Regions from separate parts of the Homo sapiens genome. Here region 1 is linked to region 2. Evidence: promoter capture Hi-C in human tissues and cell types (Jung and others, 2019). All regions are on one chromosome and are shown on one strand. The core of a region is centred on a gene start or on the middle of the fragment in contact, and the rest is flanking DNA. Distances in the headings are between cores, read along the strand shown.

What was found. The method cuts DNA at HindIII sites, captures the fragments that hold promoters and counts their contacts. A contact is called where the count stands out against the background at its distance.
Region 1: a fragment that was not itself captured here is called in contact with the fragment with the promoter of CDH19 in region 2 in 1 of the 25 tissues and cell types used here (dorsolateral prefrontal cortex).

Annotation. Positions count from the first base shown.
Region 1 is chr18:66,744,610-66,750,743 of GRCh38, forward strand. No RefSeq gene overlaps it. Among named protein-coding and RNA genes, the nearest start is that of CDH19, 140 kb to the left of the region's middle. The HindIII fragment of the contact is 4,942 bases long and covers 1,824-6,134 here.
Region 2 is chr18:66,601,069-66,607,814 of GRCh38, forward strand. CDH19 (cadherin 19) reads right to left here and starts at 3,022. Exons shown (of 12, transcript NM_021153.4): 1 at 2,886-3,022. The HindIII fragment of the contact is 13,282 bases long and covers 1-5,324 here.

The DNA of each region.
Region 1 (6,134 bases), core at 3,045-5,544, 140 kb after region 2:
TGTCTCAATTTGTGAGAACCAAAAATATATCCAGACACTGATAAGTGTCTCCTGGGGATCAAAACAGTTAAGAATCACTGTCCTAGGGTCTTTGTATTGGATGTTCATCTTCTTAGAACGCAATTTAACATTATATGTAGCCTCACTTTCTTCTGTAATTTAGTCAAATATGTTTTCACGGAAGCTTTTTCTGGTCAAAGCAACAAAAATGTAACACCTCATTTTATATTATTTTCTGTTTTGTTGTTGTTGTTTATCCATAGCTAATAAACTTTTTATATTATTAGTTGTTTATTTGTTTCATCTCACTAGAATTTAAGATCTGTGCTCTGTCTCTTTTGATCCCTAATGCTTTTCCAGTCTTTAAAACATTGGCACGTAGCAAAAATGCCAATTTACATTTATTGAATGAATAAATTCGTGAACAAATGAATTAGCGAGTTATAGAGTTACTTTTGCATATTCCAGGAATTTCACTGCTGCAAATGGAAAAGAATGAAACACAGACTGCCAATCAAGGCAGCATGAGTTTCATTCATAAGAAACTCATTTAATTTTTCCACAGCAAGTCAACTTTTCATAAGGTTGGAAATATGGAGAATAAATAAATGGGAAGATACTTTCTGGCATCTTCCTTTGCTCATCTCATGATGAATGTAATTATGCATTTCTATTGCTAAAAATTATTCATAGACCAGTAATGCGTACAAGATAATTTTTGGAATAAATAGAAATTATTAGAACTATCACTCAATTTATACTGACAGATTCTCACCTATATCAGATGCCTAACAAATCAAGAGTATTTGTATGTTTTCTGTACTATTTCTTTTATGTAAATGGAAGGAAATGTAAAAGTTGTGCGTGTGTTTTAGCTTCTACCTCAAATAGAAATGCTGGGACCGTGTGCACAATCATTTGGTATTTATTTGAAGAATTTAACATCTGACTCCGAGGGTAAGCATTTATAGATGTACTTTATGATCACTGCATGAAGAGTTTGGATTGTAATGTGGTACAAAAAGATGTGCCTGAAACCTTTTTCGCATTGCAAACATCAAATGGAGTGGAAGACAGATGGGGTTCACAATTTTAAGGAAACAGTATAAGCCCCTAATGCTGGAAATTAGTTCATGTGCTCAACAGCTGCTGACGTTAGGAAATCAGCCCCTGGATGGGATGCCTGCAGCATCAGATCTCTGTGAGAGACAAGAACACAAAGTTTTCACTGGTCGGAGCAAAACCAGTGACTTCTTTCTTGAGCAAGATCCCTGAAGTCTCCTTAACCATTAACTATCAGAAAGAAGGGCTGAAGAATGACAAAGGCACACACAGGCACCCACATAGACAAAATAGAAAATAAATGACAGAGGAGGGGTACACATTGGAAAATACTACACCAAGGCAAAAGAAAGCTCTAGTCAAATCTATTTTTTTTAGCGTTTGAAGAAAATAATGAAAATATATCCTAGTAAAAGGCCATAACCAGGGATTCTATAAGGGATTCTATAAGAATAATGATGCAACAATAAGTAATAGAAATATGTAATTTTGGTGCAGAAAGGAAAGAAATTAATGAGTGATAGAAAGATTTTGAAGAAATGAATTGACCCCACAACCAGTCTGAAATTATAAGAGGCTACAAGTATTTGATTTTTTTGCTCTTCCCTCTCCAAAGGCATTAATCACCAAAGATCAGGCACTGATTTGAGGACCTTGAAAGGCATTGGGAAATGGCACAAATTCACTTTTAACATCATTTTATGTGCATCTTTCACATGTTATATTGTCTGGGAGGTCTGCACATTACCAAACCCACTGGAACAACCTGAGTTTGGTATATATGATACTTTATTTCTCTCATTATGTATATCAGTGTCTGATTATATTGTGTAATCTTTTTAATAAATGGGATCATGCCATACATATAATGCTGTATCTACTTCTTTCACAATGCAATAGGTTACTATTTGTTTTTGAAGTCAATACATTTAGTTCTCTTTCATTTTTATACAGTCTGCTTACTACGCCATTATGCAGAGATATTACAAATTATTTATTAGAGTTAATAAAATATCTATTCCACATTTAGAAAAATCTAAATTGTTCTTTAGTATGAAATCCCTGCAATGGATTTTTTATATATGTTAGTACATTATCTAATTGTTATTTAGCATATATGTTTAAATAGTTTATCTTTATTGTCAGATTCCTCTTCAAAATAAGTTGTATAATTTTCTAGTTAACAACTTATTAGAGTACTTTTTTTTCCTGTAGGCTCTTTCAGTATATTTAAAAGTTACAAATGTTATCCTGAAACACAGCTGATTTTTTTTTTACATTTATGTCATTAAGGATATAATGCATATGTTACAAATTTATTTTCCTATTTCTTTTTTACTGTTATTTCATTACCTTTGACTTTTAAAAGTTTTATTAATTTTGAAAAACCCTGTGTATATTATTTTTATGTCACACAAAAGTTATAAAATTAATAATCAGTAAGAATTTAAAATGACGATTAATCCTGTATTCCTCAGCTGATTTCAATTCCACATTCAACACATTATTTTACTGTTTGAAAGTGTAATATTCGTTTCATGAAACTTATTTTTTATAAAGAAATAAACTCTAAGTTGTGTGTATGCTTACTGTCATTTTAGAATAGATATTCAATTCATTATAAGCCATTAATTAATAAGGCTTTTTTTTTTTTTCTGACCTCATCTTCCTCTGTAGCCCAGGCTGGAGTGCAGTAGCATGGTCATATCTAACTGCAGGCTTGATTTCTTGGGCTCAAGCAATCCTCCCACTTCAGCCTCCTGAGTAACTTGTGGGAACATAGGCACATGCCACACCACACCCCTGGCTAATTTTTTAAACTGTTTTAGAGATGAGGTCTTACTATGTTACACAAGCTGGCCTCAAACTTCTGGACACAAGCTATTCTCTCACCTTGCCCTTCCAAAGTGCTGGGATTACAAACATGAACCACCACGCCAGGCCCAACTCTGACATTTCTTCACCTTAAAAAAAATTCACCATAGAGTTATATTGCATGGATCTGTTTCTGGATTCTATTCTTTCTATAAGTCAGTATAAGATTAATTCTGGCATGGCAAGTCAACCTTCATCATCCGTTTTCACAGTTCATTTCACAATTACCTACATTTATTCTCACAAACAAATTTGAATATATACACATTTAATTGTTTTGTATTTGGACACATTACTCAATTCTTATTTTTAGTCATTTTTCAGTTCATTGTTTTTGAAAGTACTATTTTTATAATCATATCAAAACCAACTTTAAATTTTCTTTAAAAACACAAGTTTGAGAAAATTAGGTACCTGGGAATCTTAAGAAAAATGTCAGTCATGTCACAGTGTGGGTTGCTAGTATGTCAGTTTCTACTTTGTGTTATGTGATCATCATTTCAAAACGCTTACCTGCAAATAAAGCTTAGTAGGTACACCACTAAATTACGCTCCAGTTAGAGTTGCCAGATTTAGCAAATAAAAGTAAAGGTTCGTGTCCAGATAAATTTGAATTTCAAATTATCATCAACAGGTTTTTTTTTTTTAGAATAACTGTGTCCCAAGTATTAAATTGAAATTCAAATTTAACTGGAGTCTCATATTTCAACTGGCAACACTAACACCAATACAAGTGTCATTCAATTTGAAAAACTGTCTTTAATTTTAAATTTGTAAGTTTATCAGTCCTAATGTTTGCATGTATTTAAAAAACAGTTTAATAATTTAATTGGTCATTAAAAAATATCTAGCAGAGAATAATTGGATTCTCTGTAACTCAAAGGATAAATGCTCTAGGGAATGGGTACCCCATTTTATAAGATGTCATTATTACACATTGCGTGTGTGTGTCAAAACAGCTCATGTACCCCATAAATATATACGCCCTCTATGTACTCACAAAAACTAAAATTAAAAATTAAAGGCCGGGCACGGTGACTCACGCCTGTAATCCCAGCACTTTGGGAGCCCAGGGCAGGAGGATCACGAGGTCAGGCGTTCAAGACCAGCCTGACCAATAAGGTGAAACCCTGTCTCTACTAAAAATACAAAAATTAGCCAGGCGTGGTGGCACGCGCCTGTAGTCCCAGCTACTCGGGAGGCTGAGCCAGGCGAATCACTTGAACCCAGGAGGTGGAGGTTGCAGTGAGCTGAGATCGTGCCACTGCATTCCAGCCTGGGCAACAGAGCAAGACTGTCCCTAAATAAATAAATAAATAAATAAATAAATAAATAAATATAATAAAAATTAAAAATTTTAAAAAGTTTACTTAAGTGATTGATTTTCCAAAAAAGAATTTTTTCTTTAAAACATGAAATTGGTGATTGCTAATATTTTTATCACAATAAAATTTGAAAACCTTATGTGTCACAAGATTCTTAGTTAATACAAATCCAACTATAGGGAATCTCTGATCTGTGGCATGCCACTCCACTCCAAATACAGGGTAAAGAAAAGTAACAATGTTCTCCTGCTGCTGAAAGTTTGTTCTGAAAAGCTTGGAGGTTAGGTACCACAGATGAATCCTAGAAGGCCCAGAACAAAACGCTCCCACCTCACTGAAGAGCTGGTATGCTGAACATTTTATCGGGATCCAAAGAGTTGATGTATTCCAACAATGCCATCTTCAGGCCAGACCACACTTAGGAAATCCCAAAATTAACAGTTTATTTTATTTTTGAAAACTTCACCTTATGAAAATGAAAAGAAAATGAGGGGAAAGGAATTTCTGAAGGAGAAGATACTAGATTTCAGAATGTTGACCATTTTGAGAAGCAAGTTTAATCTTGGAACTGTTAATTTTATTTACTTGTATTATCTGTATGATGTTACAGATACAAAGCACAAACAAATAGTGTGCATTCTTCTTCCTTCTTTTATATCCCTCTTTACCTTGCACATTTTTATACACTGTCATTTCACCATTTTTAATTTCCTGTTCCATTTTTTACTAATATTCAACACATTTTGTTTTCTTCTATTTCTGTGCTTTTCTGTGCTCCTTGTTAAATTCCCAAAAAATGTGCAATGGTAAGCATTTTTCCTAACCATTAATGTTTTTTCACAAACTATGACAGCAAAGAAAGAATGTAGGTGTTCCATGAAATAGCTGAGAGAAAATGAAACCAACATGAATATCTCTCATTTAAGCCACATGGAGTTTAGCAGCTGCCAAGGGTAAAGAATGGTTTAAGTCATTTCCTATAAGCTCTTCACACAAAAGAACAGGAATAAATTGGATTGAATCTATTTGACTCAGCACTATCTTGTGACTTTATGATCTGTTGCAGTTTTCAACTGAACTATCTGCTTACCAGTGTTCAACTCCATTTGATCTTTGGGAGGTAAGAGACCTGGGGATAACTGTTAGATTGTGAACCTTGGATCAAAGCCACTCTAGACTATAATGAGCATATAGTAGATATGTATTTGGACATGCATGTGTCCAAAGGTTCAGTATGTAATGAAACTATCCGTATTCTATCTTCTATTGCTATATTTATAGGAGATGTCGACAGTCTCAATTATACCACATCATCATCTAATTTCACGCCACAAAAGCATGTTAATAATTTGTCTGTACAACTTAATGAGGAATTTTTTTTTTCTTAACCATGGTAGTTGACTTATCCTTCAGCCTCCTACTTTTGGGGATAGAATTACAGTTTCATAAAAGAACTCAGGAGTACACTTGCTGCTTAGTTAAAATCAAATATAGTGTACTGGTGTTATTAGAAGTGATTAGTTTAATTGTTTGAATGATAAAAATAATATTAAACACCATTCTTAATGCAATGTTTATATGAAAAACATTTTAGAGATGTGCTCAAATATTATTGCTTGTGATGTAACCATATGTTCTCCCTTATATTAAAAGGTTTACCAAACAACTAGCATTTCTTCTGAGCATAACAGGATGCCAAGAACCTCATTTAGCCAAAAGACTTCTTTAAGTGCTTTATAGAATCTCTCTACTGCATTGTTTTGAACTTATTTATATTATATACAAGCACTGAATAGGCTAAAATCACTGCTACTGGAAAAAATACACACACAGGGATAAATGGATAGATACAAGAATATACATGTTTTAAAA
Region 2 (6,746 bases), core at 1,772-4,271:
TGAAAATTCAGAGATGCATCTATACCTTTTCTCTTTGCCTTTATTATTATTCTAGTTACATTTTATGTTTATCTTTATGTTTAGTAGTATTATCTCTACATCAAGGAAAGTCATATATTCTCCACCAGGCCTTTTTAGGAATAAAATAGATGGCAAACTCTCTGACACAATTTAACTATAAAACAACTTAAAGTCAAAAAAATAGCGACTTCTTTTCTGTGATGTATTTATGATTTGCTCATTTCCACAGGAATGACATTTCTAAATTTTGCACACAGATAAAACTGCCTAGGTTATTTTAAGACATGACTGATGTGCCAAAATTATCCCCACTTTAATACAGTATCTTGCAAATTTGCAAATTTCATTTATCATGAAACTTCTTAGAATTAAAAAACAGCTAAACTGGATCTACTGCTCTGGTATGTTGAGAAACCACTGTCCTAAAATAACATTTCAAATTTCACGTGTTGTGCCAAGGCAGGATTTTTAAAAATGATGTTTTGCTTTAATCTTAAGACATACTTGGATGATTCTGAATATAATTATTGAGTAATTAATGTGACACATTTTGACAAAGGTATGTATTCTAGAGTATGTTTTAAATTCAGACAAGCATTCTCTTAACGAATCATATCAGCATATTCAAGAGGGCAGGCATCATTTGAAAAGGAAATTGATCTGTTACACATTTTGACAGGCTTTAGAGCATTTAGCTGTGTTCTCTCAATTGAAAGGTGGTGAGAGTGGGTAAAAAAAAACGCTGTAAGGGTACAGTTTATCTTGTTTTGTTTTGATTTGATTTTAAAGTGGCAAACATCTTTCTAGTCACTTTTGCAAAGACACTCATTTTGTCAATCAGGGGCTGTCTTCACCATTGATAGAAAGGATTCCTGTGGGATTATTATTACGTTCCATACTTAGTTGTGTTTCAACTTCAATCTGTTTCACCAAAGCAAAGATACAGGTGATAGAAGATCATCGATGTTAAAGGAAATCGTCGTGACAACAAATTTTTCTTATTCACCAGCATGGTTCTCAAACACTTGGTTAGGAGCAATAAATTCTCATGTAAAGAAGGTATATAGAAAGATCAATATCTCCTTTTAAACAGTTTAACACATTTATTCCTAATGCATTACTACTCACTAACATGCTGAATACTGCTATGTAATGTTTTAAACATAACATATATTTAAGAGTACATGCTAAGATCATGAGTGGCAAAAATGATCAGTTGATATTTAGTTATAGATGATATGTATCAGATTATATGTAGCTGTATTAGGAGAAATTCCTGAAAGATGGATCTGGTTTCTTAATAATGCATAGGAGGCATCTGTGCACATCATTTTAAAGCATCTTCAATTTATGATAATTTAATCAAAAATTTTTTTATGTTTCTTGAGGAAATGTACCTTACAAACATTCCTAAGTGAAAAACAAAACAAAACAAAAAATATAAGTAGAAGACATATGCTTTTCGATATATGCAGATGTGTCTGTGTGTGCCTAAAATTATAAATATTTCACTGGAGCCTAAGTAAAGAATTTACTAATGTGTAAGACTGTAAAAATCAGATATTTATATAATGATATGAGCATTTCGTTCACTGTTATAAAGGCTTGGTAAAGTGGAAAACATATGTAAAGGAAAGGAGATCTGGTGGTTTCTAAATGACATAAATTGATTGTTTAAAAATTTTGAATAATTGCAGACAATAATGAAATGCTTATTCCTTTTAAAAATAAATTGTTAGTTATTTTATTTGGTCAATATAAATGTTCACATTACATTGAAATTTAAATTCTTTGAAATCAAAAATTATAGTAAGTAGGCATACTGCTGATAATTACAATATTAAGAATTTGAAAAAAGAATATATTAATGCATATAATTTTACTTAATATTGTAACTACATCTAAAACATAAATATATATTACTAAATTTTCAAATATTTTATCTAAATAATGTCTTTCTTACAGATATATTAATTCAACAAATGAATTAATAGAGCTAAAATATAAATTGACATAATCTAAAGAAAACCTTTGCCACTCTATTTAGGTATTTTTTGTTGCTAAATATTTTATGTTTTTATATTTAATAGATTTATTAAATCCCTTTGGTAAACTTATTTTGAAATATTTTATTATAATTAGTTATTCAATTAAAATTGCATGTACCAAATTAGAATTGAAACAATATAAAATGTCTTTTACAGTATGCATTTTCCTAATTTATACTTTTCTTAATTTATACTTTCATATTTGAGAAATTACCTTTTGTGTTATGTATAAATGTTATAATACATATAGGTAAATTAATATGCCTGTACAATTTTAGGCATATATGTGTTTTTATTCATAGCAATGCTAATATTTTAATTTTTTTGGAATTATAATATACTTAAAATTTTTCATATTTATTCTGTATATATTTTTTCTCATATACTTAATGATGACAACTCTATTGTTCATATTACCTGATATACATGGTAAATACATGATAAATAAAAAATAAAACCCTGAACAAAGAAAAAAGTGCAAAGAAAGACATGCAAAGAAAGGTTGATTCATTTATTCTAAGAAACTTGAGAAGTTTTAAATATCCTAACATAGGTGTAACTTCCCCCCAACACCAACAATCTGTATTACAGAGATGGAGAACTGTTCTCACAAATACGTGTTTTGAGAAAGTTCAGTACAAGTACACATCATGGTTTTAAAATTTTTAGAATATTTTCCTTATTTCCTATGTAAATATTTTCCTTAATATTTTTAGAATATTTTCCTAGCAACATTTTGTCATGTACTTTTTGACCTATTGACTCATTAAAGATGATGCATGTAGTTTATAATATGCCTGATTATCACAGTCTTACCTTTGTAACTTCAACTTCTAGAAGTTCTGTGAAAACTGAACAGCAAACTTCGTGTTGGACACATAAGGAAGAGTAGGAAAAACTTTCTTCTTTTTGCTTCACAGTCTTCTCAGCAAACTCTCGATGTGCCCCATTGCCCAGAGTTACAGACGCTTGTGCTTTTAGTACCACAACACTGTCAGTATGTCACTGCTTACTCAATGCTATTTTGGGTTCTCTGAGTAGAGTCATAAACACTGAGCCTTTTGTGCAAAATATCATAAGGGCACTCTGACGCTCGTTCATAGTCTGGAATTAAAATGCAGACAGCTACGCAAGTAGTATGAGCTGATTATCTTTGTTTTTTTTTTTTTTCCCCTAACAACAAGCAAAAACAAAATAAAGTACTTATTGGCCTGAGTTGATAAAGGGAGAATTCAACTTACATACAAGAATTTTGCAAGTAGAGCGGACGTGCCCTCTGTTTGGGGATTAGCTGATGAAACAAATGATCAATTTAAAGCAGACCCAAAACTTACTGAAAAGAGAAATGATTTTCCACTGTGTGTCTATGCCTCATGGCTGTTTCTTAATTCGGTCATTTCTCCTCAGAAATCAAGTAAAGACATAATGAGAGAGAAATGTCTAAACTTTAATAAGTCCTTTTCTTTTCCTTGGTTTATTATTATGTAAAATCTTTTATTTTATTCATGGTTATAATTAGATTTTGATATAAGCTATTATTATTTAACATAAAATACATATGTATTTTCTATGCTGTTTACTCAAGCTGTTATTTACTTAAAAACCATTTTTGAACCAAACTAGAGAAACATTAAAATATTAAAAGTTTCTTAAATTATACCTATATAATAAGAAAGTCTATGTGGGGCAGGATTATTCAAGCATCCTGTTAATTCTGATAGATATTTTGGTCACTATCCTCTTAGCTTTTGAGGAAAGAAATGGCAAAAGCTATATGGGCAGTAAAGTAGGACACTCAAGCACACACATATACACACATGCACATGTGCACACATGCATACACATACATGTGCACACACATACATATGCACACACACGCACAAATGCACATCCTATGAGGTTGTGAATATTAGGAGGAATCAATAATTTATGAACAAATCTTGAAGAGATGAACCTGGGAGAATAGATCTGTGGATAGCAGGAACAGTATAATGTGGAAATATTTTATTTTTTCAGGTAGAAAAAAGCATTCAGCTAGAAAAAAACACTTCTAAGTGTTTCAAGATGTTAGTAAATAGGGAAAAAATAAATTTTACAAAGAACCTCTGAAGTATTCTTATACATTTCCCCCTTCATATTTTTTACAGTATCAAAAAAGGTGGAGATACCTGTTTAAAATATTTATTTACATAATTCACTGTTCTGTCTATGACCTAGTCTAGGATTTCTGTAAGAATCTAACATTTTATGAGATGCCAATTTATATCTTGATGTTTATAAAATATCCAGTTGCACTTAGGATTGAAACCACAGTTTAGAGCCTCAGTGTACCTGTAAACATGATGTCCCAAAGGCTTATTTTAGAGCCTAAGGGAGCAAAGGTGGGTCACAATTTGCTGCCCTGATTATTACAGTACCAATAAAGAGCAATGGCAACTATAGAAACCACAGTGAGACAGGATTAAATTTTCTAAAGAAGGTACAGTGTGAAACTACATGTTTTATGTAGAATATCATTAACAGCAAACTGATTTTATTAAATAGATAATCTATTATCAAACACGTACAGGAACTAGTTGCTGTAAATTGCTTAAGAAATGCATGCCCTTTCTGGAAGAGGATATAAGATGAACAGCCGATAGCCAAGGATCCAGCAAGATTCATCCGCTATGCCACAACCAAGAATGAAGACTTGGAAGTACTTAGGGGACTGGTCATCAGATAAGCTTAGTGATTACTTCTTTTTTTTTTTTTTTTTTTTTGAGATGGAATCTCTCTCTGTCGCCCAGGCTGGAGTGCAGTGGCGCAATCTCGGCTCACTGCAAGCTCCACCTCCCGGGTTCACGCCATTCTCCTGCCTCAGCCTCCCGAGTAGCTGGGACTACAGGCGCCCGCCACCACGCCCTGCTAATTTTTTTGTATTTTTAGTAGAGACGGGGTTTCACCATGTTAGCCAGGATGGTCTCGATCTCCTGACTCGTGATCCGCCCGCCTTGGCCTCCCAAAGTGCTGGGATTACAGGCTTGAGCCACCGTACCCGGCCCAGCTTAATGATTACTTCTACGTCATTTTCTTTATAACAAGAGAAATATATCTGACTAATTTTTCATATATGGGGGGGTAATACATAGTAAATGGAACATGACTGTGTAAGAACAGAAGCTCAAAATTAAATACACTACTATCCATATGTAAGTCAGAGTTATCATACTCAGAGTTATCTGAGGTCCCCACAGCAGTAAACATGTGGCAGGATGGACAATTCCCGAAACACAAGTGATGTTTTATAGCTGCACAGTGACATTCTGGTCTATTTTCACATGCAGTCTGGGGGAATTTCACAGTTATCACCTGCCAGCAGGCTAAGGAACAGAGCTTGAAGTTGCAGAAGCCAGGATTGTATTGAGTTACTCTAAATAAAAATTTGAATTCAAGTATTATAATTCAGAGCCACCAATTTTTTAAACCAGATAATTAAGAAATATATATCTAATGACTAACCGCAGACAAGACTGGCTAATGAAGTTTGAATTTAACTGAACAGGCAGAAATGGAAAGTCAAACATTATGCAAGCTCTGATCTGTCCCTTGAAAATAGACATTTAACCAGAAAGTTTAAGTCTACCTACTTTATATCATAGGCTATACATGTGCCTTCAATTAGAAATTTAGGCCTTGTCCAATCAGGTGTTGTCAGGATAGCATAATCTAAGGACCACATCCTTCTCACATGGTCTGGAAGCATTTTAGTTCTTAAAAATATATTTAAGTTGTTTTGGGAAAAGCTTATAATATGTTAATACAAGAACATTTAAAACAGATATTTACTGTATGCTATCACTATATCAATGAGAAATCTATTGACTAGCAAGCAGATAGCAAAATCAAACAAAATCAAATCCAAAAATGAATAGAATAATGAAGAAATTCAATGTATACATAGAGAAATAAAGTAGGGTTAAGGGTTAGTTGATCCAGTGGCTTCCTACTGCAATCAGTTATCTAGGTTCTTGGGCTCTGTTTGGTTCTCCAACTTTTCCTCAAGGCCCTCAAAAACACTGTCACTTTCGTCTTATTCATCAAAATGATCACTTGTCCATGCATGAACAAAGAATGGCAACAAGAAAAGCTTAAAGTAATTGTCATTCCTGAACCTGAGAGAAAGAGTTAGTTGATAGAAAAACAGATTCATTTCCCCAAATTAGAGTGGAGTGGTTGAATCTAGTTGATAACCAACTAGACGTCCAGTGTTCACTTCAGATATTCATGTAAAATAGCTTTTAAAATGCTGAAAATAAAAATAATAATTTTCTCCATGGATTGCCATTAAATGGCATTCTTTTCCAACAGTCCAATTTGCTGTGTTTTCCATTCTGTTTTTAACATTGAATATATATCACAATGATAAATATGGGGAAATAAAAAAATGCACAATGATAGAACAAACAATAAACAAAATATTCACTAATCTATATACTTCTAACCATGCTAAAATACTTTGTATCAAAATTACACAAATTTTGCTCAGAGTAAAGAAATATTGTCTTGAATATGGCAACAATTTGTATGGTTTGAAGATTTATCTTTTAAATTCTAGTTACAGTAGCCACTTGTCTAATATAATAAAAAATTTTATTGTCATATATATGTCCTTATTTTCTTATTTTTGTATTCATT